Linked DNA regions of Homo sapiens: regions 1, 2 and 4 are each linked to region 3. Evidence: promoter capture Hi-C in 16 types of primary human blood cells and fetal thymus (Javierre and others, 2016). All regions are on one chromosome and are shown on one strand. The core of a region is centred on a gene start or on the middle of the fragment in contact, and the rest is flanking DNA. Distances in the headings are between cores, read along the strand shown.

Region 1 (2,958 bases), core at 281-2,780, 220 kb after region 3:
TAACATAATGTCTTCATGATTCATCCATGTTGTAGCATGTGCCAGAATTTCCTTCCTTTTTAAAGCTGAATAATGTTCCATTGTATGTGTAGACCACGTTTTGTTTATCCATTCATCCATGGATGGACACCTGAGTTGCTTCTCCGTCTTGGCTACTGTGAATAATGCTGCTATGAACATGGGTATGCAAATGAAACCTTTTGAATTTGGAGAATGTGACTATATTACCTAATTTTAAAAACATATTAAACTAATTAAGTTTTAAAAAACAGATACATGATATTCATGAATCAACCTGAAAGTAGCATCTTTTTCTTTTTTTTTTAAAGAAGATTCTCTATTTAGTGTTTATGGATGCACAGGAAAACTGCTTTAAGGCATAAGTTGTTTTTTATTAAATTTGTCTTTTACCTATTCTTTTACAATTTTGGGGGTTTTCCTTTATGCTCAAGCTTCCTCAAGATTCTTCAAGGCAGATCAAAACCATCCTCAGTGGCAATCCTGTATTTGGCTTTTGATTTTGCTTATTTCACAGGAGGTTGCTTTACTGAGAGGGGGAAATCTCTACTCCTGGTCTCAGTGCTGGTAGTGGATCTAAATCAGCAATGGGCGGACACCCCAGCCCCACACTACTGTGGCTTCCCCACTTGTGGGCACAAACAGTCACGTACTAGGCAATGGTGACCTCTCCAGGTAGGCAGTTTTCCCTCAGGTTATATTGGAGTTAGAACCTGCCTGAAAACCACTAACCGGCTGCAGCGGTGGGATTGTGTGAAGAACAAGTTACCTTCCTCCAGGGCAAGGTGATTCTTTTAAACAAATTTTAAGACAATTTAGTTGTACTGAATTTAGAGCTGAAGCCAGTTGCAAATGTAGCTGCTTGTGTCTGCATAAGAAAGAGGAAGTATGCTAGTTTTCCTTTCCTTGTTCCAGAAGAGGGCAGTTCTTGCCAACGCGAGCTGCTGCTTTAAGAACTTGAAGCAACTTTTCTGACATCTGAAACTATTTGTCTTTTGGGAACTTATTTGTCCTAGCCTGCCTGCAGAACCAGCTGTTAAGGCTCTGTTGGGAAGGAGTATCGCTCTGCTATATTGACCTCTGGTAGACCATGACATGGCCCCATATGCCATACAACATAAACTGGTTACTAAGAGTAATTTAATGGCTATCTCTAGAGCTACTCTTTTGTTACCTTCTAAAGAAGGCAGGGAAGAAAATATAAATGGGGTTATAATAGGAATAATCTTGAATCTGTTTTAATTTATACAAAATACATTTATAAGTTTTGGCACATTCACGTTTGGATACTGGCTAACAACTTTTTAGCGAGAGTAGCCTGTATCTTGCATGTCATTCCATTGAACAGTAAGGTGGATCCCTGTCAATGAAGAAATCATCTGATGCCAGGGACTTTGAAGTCTTTCTCCAAGAGGTAGATACGATGATCTCTGTTTTGCTGGAAAGAAAGCTGATACCCAGAAAGAGCCTGTAATCTCAGGTCCCCGTGGGTAGTAAACAGCCCTGGTTTGGAACCCAGGTAAGTCCAACCTGCAGGATTGTACTTTCCCCCTTTCCCCACACTTTGTATTTGCCAAATCTGATATGAGGGCACTTGGCTCTTCAGAACCAGAAGCTATGTGTGATTGAAGGGCTCTATTAAACCTTAGGATTTTCCATGACTTGTCGCTCCCATCCGCTTCCTCTCCCCAGGGTAGCTTCTTGTCTGAGTTTCCGTTTGCTTCCCACCAATCACTGTCTCTCTAGGAGCAATGTCGTCCTACGGAATCTTCCGTATCATTCCTCAACTGTAAGCTCTGCAGTTCAGGAATGCAATGTTAGGAATCCCAGTGTTGCACAAACTTCCTTTCTAGCCGTTGGATTCTGGTGTGCAGAGAACTAAAGAGACTTCCCAGGATTCAGACCCTTCCAATGGGAGGATTCTCCTAACTCTAGGGGAACTGTTGGCTGCTTAAGAGCAAAACCATATGGCTCACTCAAAAATCCCTTTCCTAAGAGAAATCTATAACTGACCCTCTGTGTTCCCTTTTCTCTGAAGATTTCAAATATATTTGTGGTAAAAGCAGAGAAAGAAGAGGAGAAAATCATAATAAAAGCACAATAATGATGATTTTAGTAAAGATAAGAATGGGGCATGGATCAAGACAATGACTAAAACCCCAGGCAGGAAAAGCCCCGTGGAATTGGTCTGAACTGAATGTAGCAGCCCATCAGTGGAAGTTTTCTTGTTTCTGGCAGGTGGCCTATGCTTTTATCTATTACTGCTCTGTAATCAGAATTGAGCCACGATATTCAAGTTTCTTATCTGAATGATGGGAATTTGGTTTTCTGGCCTTCTGCATTTTGCAGGAGCCCAAGAATTGACCTGATGTTTTAAAATATATTTTCCCTCCAAAGGAGGAGTAAAATCCAGACAGGTGGGCCATTCTGTGTGTTTAAAGTCATTGAAAAGCCTCTGCAAGTAAAATTTGAGGCTGTCTGTAACCCACATTGAATAGTTACAGATATATTTTATTTTGGAGGATAAAAAATCAAGAAGTTACTACCACAATTTGGTGGGAATTTTGAATTTTGGAGTTTTCCTTTGTACTCAAGCTTCCTCACGATTCTTCCAGGCAGATCAAAGCCATGGGTTTTGGGATCCCCTAATCGCAAATCCAGTTTTGCTTCTTAAAATCTAATCAGTCCTTAAGTTATTTTTTAAATCTTCCTTTCTACTCCCCAGTTGAAATCTCCATTTCTACTTCTAGAAATCCAGTCAAACCTTATCGCCTCCATTTAGAACTGATCGATAGCAACTGGTGAGCAGGTTAATTATAATCGCAGAATAAACGCTGAAGTCTCAAAGTTCACCACTTTTGCAATGTTTCCAAACCCCTCGGGACCATGCCAGGAGGCGCTCATTGACCCATTCCGAGCAGGTGTGGGAGTTTGAACCAG
Region 2 (2,716 bases), core at 98-2,597, 190 kb after region 3:
AATAAATTGCATTCTGAATATAGCATGAAATATAAACTTAAAATACCATTTAATAATGGTATTTTCTTTCTCTAAGTCCTACATTTAAAAAAAATTTTTGAGGTTGGCCTTCGTTGGTTGGGTGGGTGTGTTTGTTGATAATGGAGTGTGAATAGAATTTTTGCAAATCACAGAATTTTCTGAAGACTGGAGGCAGCTCCTCCTAAGCTCATCTCTTCCCTTCTTCATCTACAAGGCAAGCAAGGCCGAGACAGGCACCATAGCCATCTTCATGTAATTTTCCAGCCCCCTACACTGCACAGGCATAGTGGTAGGAACTTTCCTGAAGGATGATTCTTGCAGGGGTGAGTTCCAGACACCCTTGTTGACTTAATTCTCTACAAACAAAATCCTCAGGCTGGGCGCAGTAGCTCATGCCTCTAATCCCAGCACTTTGGGAGGCCGAGGCGGTCAGATCACGAGGTCAGGAGTTCGAGACCAGCCTGACCAACATGATGAAACCCCGTTTCTACTAAAAATACAAAAATTACCTGGGCATGGTGGGGCGCGCCTGTAATCCCAGCTACTCAGGAGGCTGAGGCAGGAAAACCACTTGAACCCGGGAGGCGGAGGTTGCAGTGAAGCGAGATTGCGCCATTGCACTCCGGCCTGGGTGACAGAGTGAGAATCCGTTTCAAAAAAAAAAAAAAAATCCTCAACCACAGTTGTTTAATCTGCCCCTTTTCTAGGAAGGGGATTAACTCCAAAGCCTGAGCAGACATCTGTGTTCTTGATGTGCAGAGGATGCCTTCCAAAGCAAGAGATGTGAGAAGTGAGGAGGACACAGCTGGGAGGGAAGAGATTTCCCTTGCCTTTGAAAAACGCTTCATTCTCTGCTAGCTAGGCATTCTGGGATGGGTGGGTCAGTATGTTGTTGACTGCTTTTCTTATCGCTGTACCATTTAGCATCCCCAGAAATGGCTCCTCAGGCACAGTTTTTTTTAGGCATCCATAGACCACCCTCCCCCCGCAGAGAATTATCCAGAGAAGTATCCAAGGTGCTCCATCTTTGTACAGTTTTGTAATAATCTCCACCTGTAATCAAAATAGAATCCGGGAGGTCAAGCAATCCTCCTCTTGGCCCTGCTTCAAACTGCTGAACCAAACAGAGCTCTGTGCCCTCATCTGTGAGTTGGGGGCAATGAATAATTGTTGTGGTTTATCAAAGTGGTATCACATACATCACATTTGAACCTCACAGCAACTCTCTGGTGTATTATTAGACCATTTCCCCCTTTTTATAGATGAGAAAACTGAGATTCAGAGATGTTGTAAAGCCAAAGGTCACAGTACTAATAAGTAACAGAATTGAACTCAAAATGCCTTGCTCTAACTACCAAGTGCTGCCTCCCTCACCCTCCAGAGAAAAGCCAAGAATACAGGAGATTGTCTACATGAGCTGATATGTAATGGCTCTGACAGGTTTTATTGGGATCCCTTACTCATCCAAAAATCAAAAAATTACACAGCTACAAGGCTCCTAGAACTGATCAAGCCCTGCCCCCGTTTCATTTGGCAGGTGTTGCCCAATGAGGTTGAGTGATTTGCCAAAGGTCACTCCATGAGTTCATGGAAAATGACCAATGTCATTTTTAAAAATTAGTTAAAAGTACCTTCTACCAAGCCCATTTTTATGGCTTATTTTAAGCAGGTTAATAAGTATACCAGGCACAGCTTAAACCCAACTGAGTAAATGCTGACACCAGTTTATAGATTCAGCAGATAAGTAGCAATAAGGAATTATTCATCTCTCATTTATCATCCAGCCTTTCCAAGGTGCAAGTTATAAAGTGAAGCAAATAGCAGTTCAAGAGCCCCCCACACACGTGAGATCAAAACAGTGAAAAACAAATTGATTTTCAAAGCTATACATTTATAATGCGTCTATGCCTGAGGTCTCCTGAAATATGAAAAAGAATAATACTTGGGAACATTTTTTGCATTTCAGAAATAGGCACATTTCTTATACAGAGCTCTATATTTGACCTTCAGACATATTCAATCATTAATTCATTCTTTTGAGTATGTATTGTGTACCTACTCTGTGCAGACCACTGTAGGGGATTATAGAATTACTAAAGGATATTCCAGCCATCAAGAACTTTTTAAACCTACTGAGGTGACAAAATAAAGCACACATGCATGCATGCGCGTGCGCGCATGCACACACACACACACACACACACACACTTGAATCTCAACCCTATAAATCTTTGTGTGGGGACGTTATGTGATGCCCAGAGTCAGTGGGTGTCAGGGGAGTGTGTGCATGGGGACAGGAGGGAATGGAAAGATTGCCTGGTGTGACTAGGGGAGCCACAACTAGGAACACATTGAGGAGGTGGCCTTGCCTCAACCTTCTCCCCAGTGACATATCTTTCTCATGAGAATAGTGTTAGGAAAATTCATAGGCAGAAAATAAGACAAAGAATTGATGGCCCCAATTAAGAACCTAATCCCCAAATCCCCTGAAGCACAAACTGGTGGAGAGATGGGTGAGGGAACAATGGGGGCAATAGCAGTTATAATATTTGTAATGTCTGCAGAAAATGAATAAAATCAACAGATGATTTATTTGGGAGGTGAGCACTAATGAATTCTCATGTGTTATTCAGAAAGGTCGGTTTACCTTATATTTTTATCACTCCCAGTCTTCCAGTGGTGGACCTGAGACCCA
Region 3 (2,971 bases), core at 224-2,723:
GGTGTTCAGAAAAACAGTGCTGCATTAATTGAATTGAAATAGGAAGACTAAGTTACCTCATCTCAAATCAGTCACTTTTTAAATCAGAAGCTCGCAGAGTTTGGAACTCATGTTTCATGTTTGGATCCATGTAGTAGGTATCAGGAAGTGAATGTAAGAGTAAATTAACAGGAGCTGCCATGGACTGAGCAGGCCCAGGGTTCTGGACATTGTTGTGAGCCCTCTGCTACCACGTGGAGAAGATCAGCTTTGGGATTTAAAGCAATTAGCCACATTCACATCAGCTTCCAGGTATTTGCAGTTTATTATGTGCTAAATACTGTAATAGATACTTTTTATGCATGAATCCATTTATTCTCACAAAACCCCTTGGGGAAGTGAAACAGATTATTTCCATAGTGTCTTAAAACCCCAGAACTCTGCGTTGCTGCGTCTATTGACATGAACACCTGTCAAACCTGCAACTCATAGCTCAGTATTGTCTCAGTCCAATCCAAGGAAATGAACTCCTTGAGAAAGCTGACATTCTGGACCATGGGGTAGAAGCTACCCTGTCTGCCTCCCACACCCACTCTCAAGGATCCAAGACTATGAAGGGAGAAGAGAGAGCCCACCGAGTGACTTCCTCTTATAAGCCAATATCAAGACACTAGTGGAAAGGAACCAGCTGACCAGTGGCTCACTGTGTCTGGCTGGACCAGCAAGACTCTGACGTCATCACAGAAGCCTTCTTGGTCCCATTGGTCCTTTGACTGCTGTGTACAGGATGCCACCCACCACTCCAGACACCACTCACCACTCTAGATGTTGGGATCCTTCTCCCGTTACCTCCATTATTCTTGTTCTCTACTCCTCTGAGTTTTCATAGCCAAGCAAATTTCCACCATTGAAGAGGCTCTGAGATCCAAGTCAACTAACTACTGGCTAGGGTACTGTAAAACACATGGGAAATTAGCTTTTACCAAACACCAATTCTATGCCCACCATTCATACCCATTCTACCATTTAATGCTGATAGTATCCTGTGAGCTAGCTATTATTAGCATCATTTAAAGACAAAGCAAAACCAGTGAGGCTGAAAGAACGGCTGCCCTGGTGCACACAGATGGCACATGGCAGAGCCCAAGCCCTCTCCATGAGATCTGCAGCGTTTGTCCACACGGCAGGGCAAATTACCTTGTAGAGTCAGCATGGAGGTTTGCTAACTCTGCCGGACTTGGTGCAGAAAAAATACCAGCCGTGCTGTTAAACCAAAACCCCAGGAGAAAACTTTCTGGTGACAGAAGGGCATTGTGACCCACGTTGCCCAGGGCCAGGGACAGGGCAGCTGCTCATGGTCCTTCCTCACGAGTTTTCCTGGAGCAGAGGGATACCCCCAAACCCAGGGAGCCCACAGGAGCTTCAGAAGGGCTCGGCTGGAGGGCGGGGCCCCTGTTGCACTTGCTCACTGGGGACTGGGGAGGCTCTGATCGCAGACCGGGGGTGCTGCCACCTCTGTCTGCTGCCGGCAGAAAGCCACAAGCCATGAAAACTGATTGAGATGAGAAGAATTCATCTGGGACTGGCTTTTGCTTTAGGATGGTGTTGGAAGTTGCTCGTTGTCGCTAGGAGCCTGCTCCACTGTAAGGGTGTCAGGATCTGAAGAGCTATGGTGAAACACCACTGAAGCATTGCCAAGGTGAGGCCCTGCGTCTTCCGGGTTCTTTATCGTCTTCCTTTAAATTGTGCAAATGGTGCTGTAAGGCCTGTAGTGGGGCAAGCAAGCAAGGACATTGCTGTGGGTGCCACAGACGGAGGAAGAGGCATGAATGGATCGCTGCCTCAGCTATGAATAGATTGCTCCATGGTTTGTGCATTTCCAGTTTTGAGAATTTTTAATTTATAAAAGGTCATCCATCCAGGGTAGATTCTGCTTTTTGGAAAAGGCAGTGAATGTGCCACAGAGGAGAGAAGGGACGTGGGATGTAGAGAGGGGGTTGAGCGGGCACACACAGGCCACTGCTGCGCTCCCGGCGAGTCACTCGGCCTCTTGATAGGAGGTGATATTGACTGTGCAGAGCTGACAGAGGTTAGTGGTCACAGGCGGGGAGCATCTGGCTCAAGGCAAATGACTGTTGCTTTCGTTTTATTTGTTTGTTTCTGAATGAAGTTGTTCCATTTTTCAGGCATTCAGGAATGGGGTAACTGAATAGATGTAATGATGATCTTCTTGTTTAAGAGATCTATTTCACCAGGAAACACCAACTGTGAAAAGGAAAGCATAGTTGATCACATATTTTGAAAGGATTTGTGTAAATTGTAAGGTTTTGACAACGTTTCCATTTATCTGGTAATGCGGGTGGATGAAGTTCACCCTCATCCACCCACATTACCAAGGAACTAAGGAATTGTGCGTTTGCAGTAACAGAAGAAATTGCTGTGATATGTGCATATCCTCCTCCCTCGGGAGAGTGGGACTTAATTCCCCTCACCTTGAGTGAGGTTTGGACTAAGAGTATGGAAAGGGAGAAATAGTAGCTCTGTAGAGGAGAAACCTGCAGATGCCAGCTTCACCAAGGGACCAAGCTTAGCATCACCGGGAATAAGCTGGGCTGCTATTGTGAACTGCCACGACAGTGCGGTTCTTCCCACCAACTCATAACCCCAGTCAAATCATGAGAAAACATCAGACAAATCCAAACTGGGGAAGATTCCACAACATATTTCACCTTCAAAAATGTCAAGGTCATGAAAAACAAAGAAAGACAGGCAAAGCGTCACAGATCAGAGGAGACATGATGGTCAGGACACCCAAACCCAGAATTCGCATCCTGTATTGGATCCTAAAGCAACACCGCAAAGGTCATTAGTGGAAAAATAGGTGAAATTTTAACAAGACCTGGGGTCTCGCTAATATTGTGGTAACAATTACTGCTTAGTTCTGGCAAATGTACCATGGTTACGTAAGGTGTTCACATTAGAAGAACCTGGT
Region 4 (2,801 bases), core at 133-2,632, 240 kb after region 3:
CCCTGCAGAAACAGCTGCAGAGGAGTATCCATGGTATGATCCCACGTGTGTTCAGCACACTGCTCTGTTCTTTCCTGTACTGAGGGAGCCCATTTCTGGTGAGGATTATTTCCACCACCCCGATGACACAGGCTTGGCTATGAGACTTGCTTTGATCAAGAATATGTGACTCGAAGTCACTATGCAACTTCCACACAGAGGCATTAAGAGCCATTACGTGGTTCTGTCATTACTTTTTGCCCCCTGCCACGAGGCTGGCATGAACCACATAGAGGTTTTGCCTTCGGCCTGCATGTCCAATTGAAGCATACATATAGAATTTCGGCCAACTTGCAGCTGACATGTAATGTGAACAGCAAACAAATAACTATTTGTTTGTTACAGCATAACAGCTTAAACAGCACCAAACCAAGCATAAGTGTTTTATACATATACATTTGAACATGGCTAAAATATATCTCCTATATCCTAGATACACTTTTCTCATGTGTATAAACAGACATGTACAAGGATGCCTGATGAAGCATTGCTATTACAGCAAAAAACTGAAAACAATCTGAATATATATCAGTAAGTGTCTTAGCCAGTTTAGGTTGCTGTAACAGAATACCATAGAATGTGTGGCTTTAACAACGCTTATTTCTCAAAGTTCTGGAAGCCAGGAAGCCCAAGATCACGGCACTGGCAGATTGGTGTCTGGTGAGAGACCCAAGCCTGCTTTGCAGAAGACCATCATCTCACTGCATCCACTCATGGGGTGGGTGTAGGGAGATATCTATTCTGTCTTTTCTTTTCTTTTTTTTGAGGCAGAGTTTTGCTCTTGTTGCCCAGGCTGGAATGCAATGGCGCAACCTCGGCTCACTGCAACCTCCGCCTCCTGGGTTCAGGCAATTCTCCTGCCTCAGCCTCCTGAGTTGCTGGGATTACAGGCATGCACCACCATGCTCGGCTAATTTTTGTATCTTTAGTAGAGATGGGGGGGTTTCACCATGTTGGTCAGTCTGGTCTCGAACTCTTGACCTCAGGTGATCCCCCTGCCTCGGCCTCCGAAAGGGCTGGGATTACAAGAGTGAGCCACCGTGCCCAGCCTCTGTCTCTTCTTATAAGGGTACTAATCCCATTCATGAGGGCTCCGTCCGATGGCCTGTTCACCTCCCAAATGCCCAACCTCCAAATACCATCACATGTGGGTTAGGATTGCAAGATCTAAATTTGGGTTATTCACAGACGTTTAGTCCATAACCATAAAGAAATGAACAAGTAAAATGTGATTTATTAATATAATGGAAAACTGTAAATCAACTCAAATAAAGCAGATCCACATGTATAATTAAAACTGGGAAACATAATAGGCAAAAAAGAGACTGGAATTGTGGGTTACACAGAGGCATCTACTGTATCTGCAATGTTGTATTTCTTTAAAAACATCTGAAGGAAATATGGTAAAACAAAGATTTGAAAAAGCTGGTGGTGGGTTTAAGAGTGTTTGCTATATATTTTTTTCTCAGTGACTGAAATATTTCATATTTTTTAAAGAAAGCATTCATGTAAATCTTTAAAATTGCAAAGCAATGCTTATGTTCTTCAGAGGAACATTTATCCCTGTGTGTAGAAGTATATAGATTAATTGGAAGGATATACACTAAATTCAATATAGTGATTGGATAGCAGATGGTGGGGGAATAAACAGAATTGTTACAGTGTCCTTTGTGTTTTTATGTAATTTTAAAATTTCTAAAAATAAAAATGTTAATTAATGCAGTGGAAGATATCTGGAAAAACAGGAAAATTGTTAGCCACCTCTGCCCCTGGAGATGGGATCATGGTGATGGTGGAGACTTTTTGTTTGTTTGTTTGTTTCTTTCTTTCTTTCTTTTTTGAGACGGAGTTTTGCTCTTATTGCCCAGGCTGGAGTGCAATGGTGCAATCTCGGCTCACTGCAACCTCCTCCTTCCGGGTTCAAGCGATTCTTCTGCTTCAGCCTCCCCAGTAGCTGGGATTACAGGCATGTGCCACCACGCTGGCTAATTTTGTATTTTTAGTAGAGATGGGGTTTCTCCATGTTGGTCAGGCTGGTCTCGAACTCCCGACCTAAGGTCATCCGCCCGCCTCGGCCTCCCAAAATGCTGGGATTACAGGCGTGAGCCACCGCGCCTAGCTGAGACCTTTTGTTTCTACGTGACATTCTTCTGTACCGTTTGCCTGTTTGAAAAAAAAAATTTTTTTTTGAGATAGGGTTTTGCTTTGTCACCCAGGTTGGAGTGTGGTGGTGCGATCATAACTCGCTTGCAGGCCTGAAGTCCCAGGCTCAAGTGATCCTCCTACCTCAGCCTCTGGAGTAGCTGAGACTACAGGCGAGGGCCACCAAGCCCAGCTAATTATTATTTTATTTAAGAGATGTGGTGTTACTATGTTGCCCAGGCTGGTATTGAACTCCTGAGCTCAAGCCATACTCCGACCTCACAAAGGGCTGGGATTACAGGCCAGAGCCACCATGCCTGGCCTGTTTGAATTTTTGTAGCAATTAAAAATTGCGTAATTTAAACACAAATTGAAGGGGACAGGGACTAAAAACATAAATGAGAGTTAGAATGCAGTGCCACGTTGAATGCTTTCACAGGTAGGAGCCTAGAAATCATCTGTTCCAACTACTGCACTTTTGAGTTGTGGAGACCAGACCAAGAGAGGTGAAATGACTGTTGGCTAAGGCGTCCACCTCTACTTGCGTCTGGAATTGCCCCTGCCTCTGCCTTTAAGTCTGGTCTGCGTGGCTTCTGATAGCGAAGCCAGGGGCGGACCCC

Evidence for each region. The method cuts DNA at HindIII sites, captures the fragments that hold promoters and counts their contacts. A CHiCAGO score of 5 or more calls a contact.
Region 1: a contact is called between a fragment that was not itself captured here and the fragment with the promoter of BLK in region 3, in 2 of 17 cell types (naive B cells and total B cells). The highest score is 16.4, in naive B cells.
Region 2: a contact is called between a fragment that was not itself captured here and the fragment with the promoter of BLK in region 3, in 2 of 17 cell types (total B cells and naive B cells). The highest score is 12.4, in total B cells.
Region 4: a contact is called between a fragment that was not itself captured here and the fragment with the promoter of BLK in region 3, in 1 of 17 cell types (total B cells). The highest score is 5.4, in total B cells.

What each region holds. Positions count from the first base shown.
Region 1 is chr8:11,715,998-11,718,955 of GRCh38, forward strand. All of the region lies in intron 2 of GATA4 (GATA binding protein 4), which reads left to right. Among named protein-coding and RNA genes, the nearest start is that of SNORA99, 12 kb to the left of the region's middle. RefSeq lists an enhancer at 2,791-2,935 and a cis regulatory region at 2,857-2,870. The HindIII fragment of the contact is 2,161 bases long and covers 451-2,611 here.
Region 2 is chr8:11,686,323-11,689,038 of GRCh38, forward strand. It overlaps a transcript of GATA4 not described here. Among named protein-coding and RNA genes, the nearest start is that of GATA4, 17 kb to the right of the region's middle. The HindIII fragment of the contact is 8,153 bases long and covers 1-2,716 here.
Region 3 is chr8:11,492,914-11,495,884 of GRCh38, forward strand. BLK (BLK proto-oncogene, Src family tyrosine kinase) reads left to right here and starts at 1,474. Exons shown (of 13, transcript NM_001715.3): 1 at 1,474-1,678. RefSeq lists cis regulatory regions at 1-93, 167-1,787 and enhancers at 1,407-2,606, 1,496-1,685, 1,696-1,785. The HindIII fragment of the contact is 7,699 bases long and covers 1-2,563 here.
Region 4 is chr8:11,733,701-11,736,501 of GRCh38, forward strand. All of the region lies in intron 2 of GATA4 (GATA binding protein 4), which reads left to right. Among named protein-coding and RNA genes, the nearest start is that of LINC02905, 26 kb to the right of the region's middle. RefSeq lists enhancers at 2,055-2,555, 2,700-2,749. The HindIII fragment of the contact is 3,923 bases long and covers 1-2,801 here.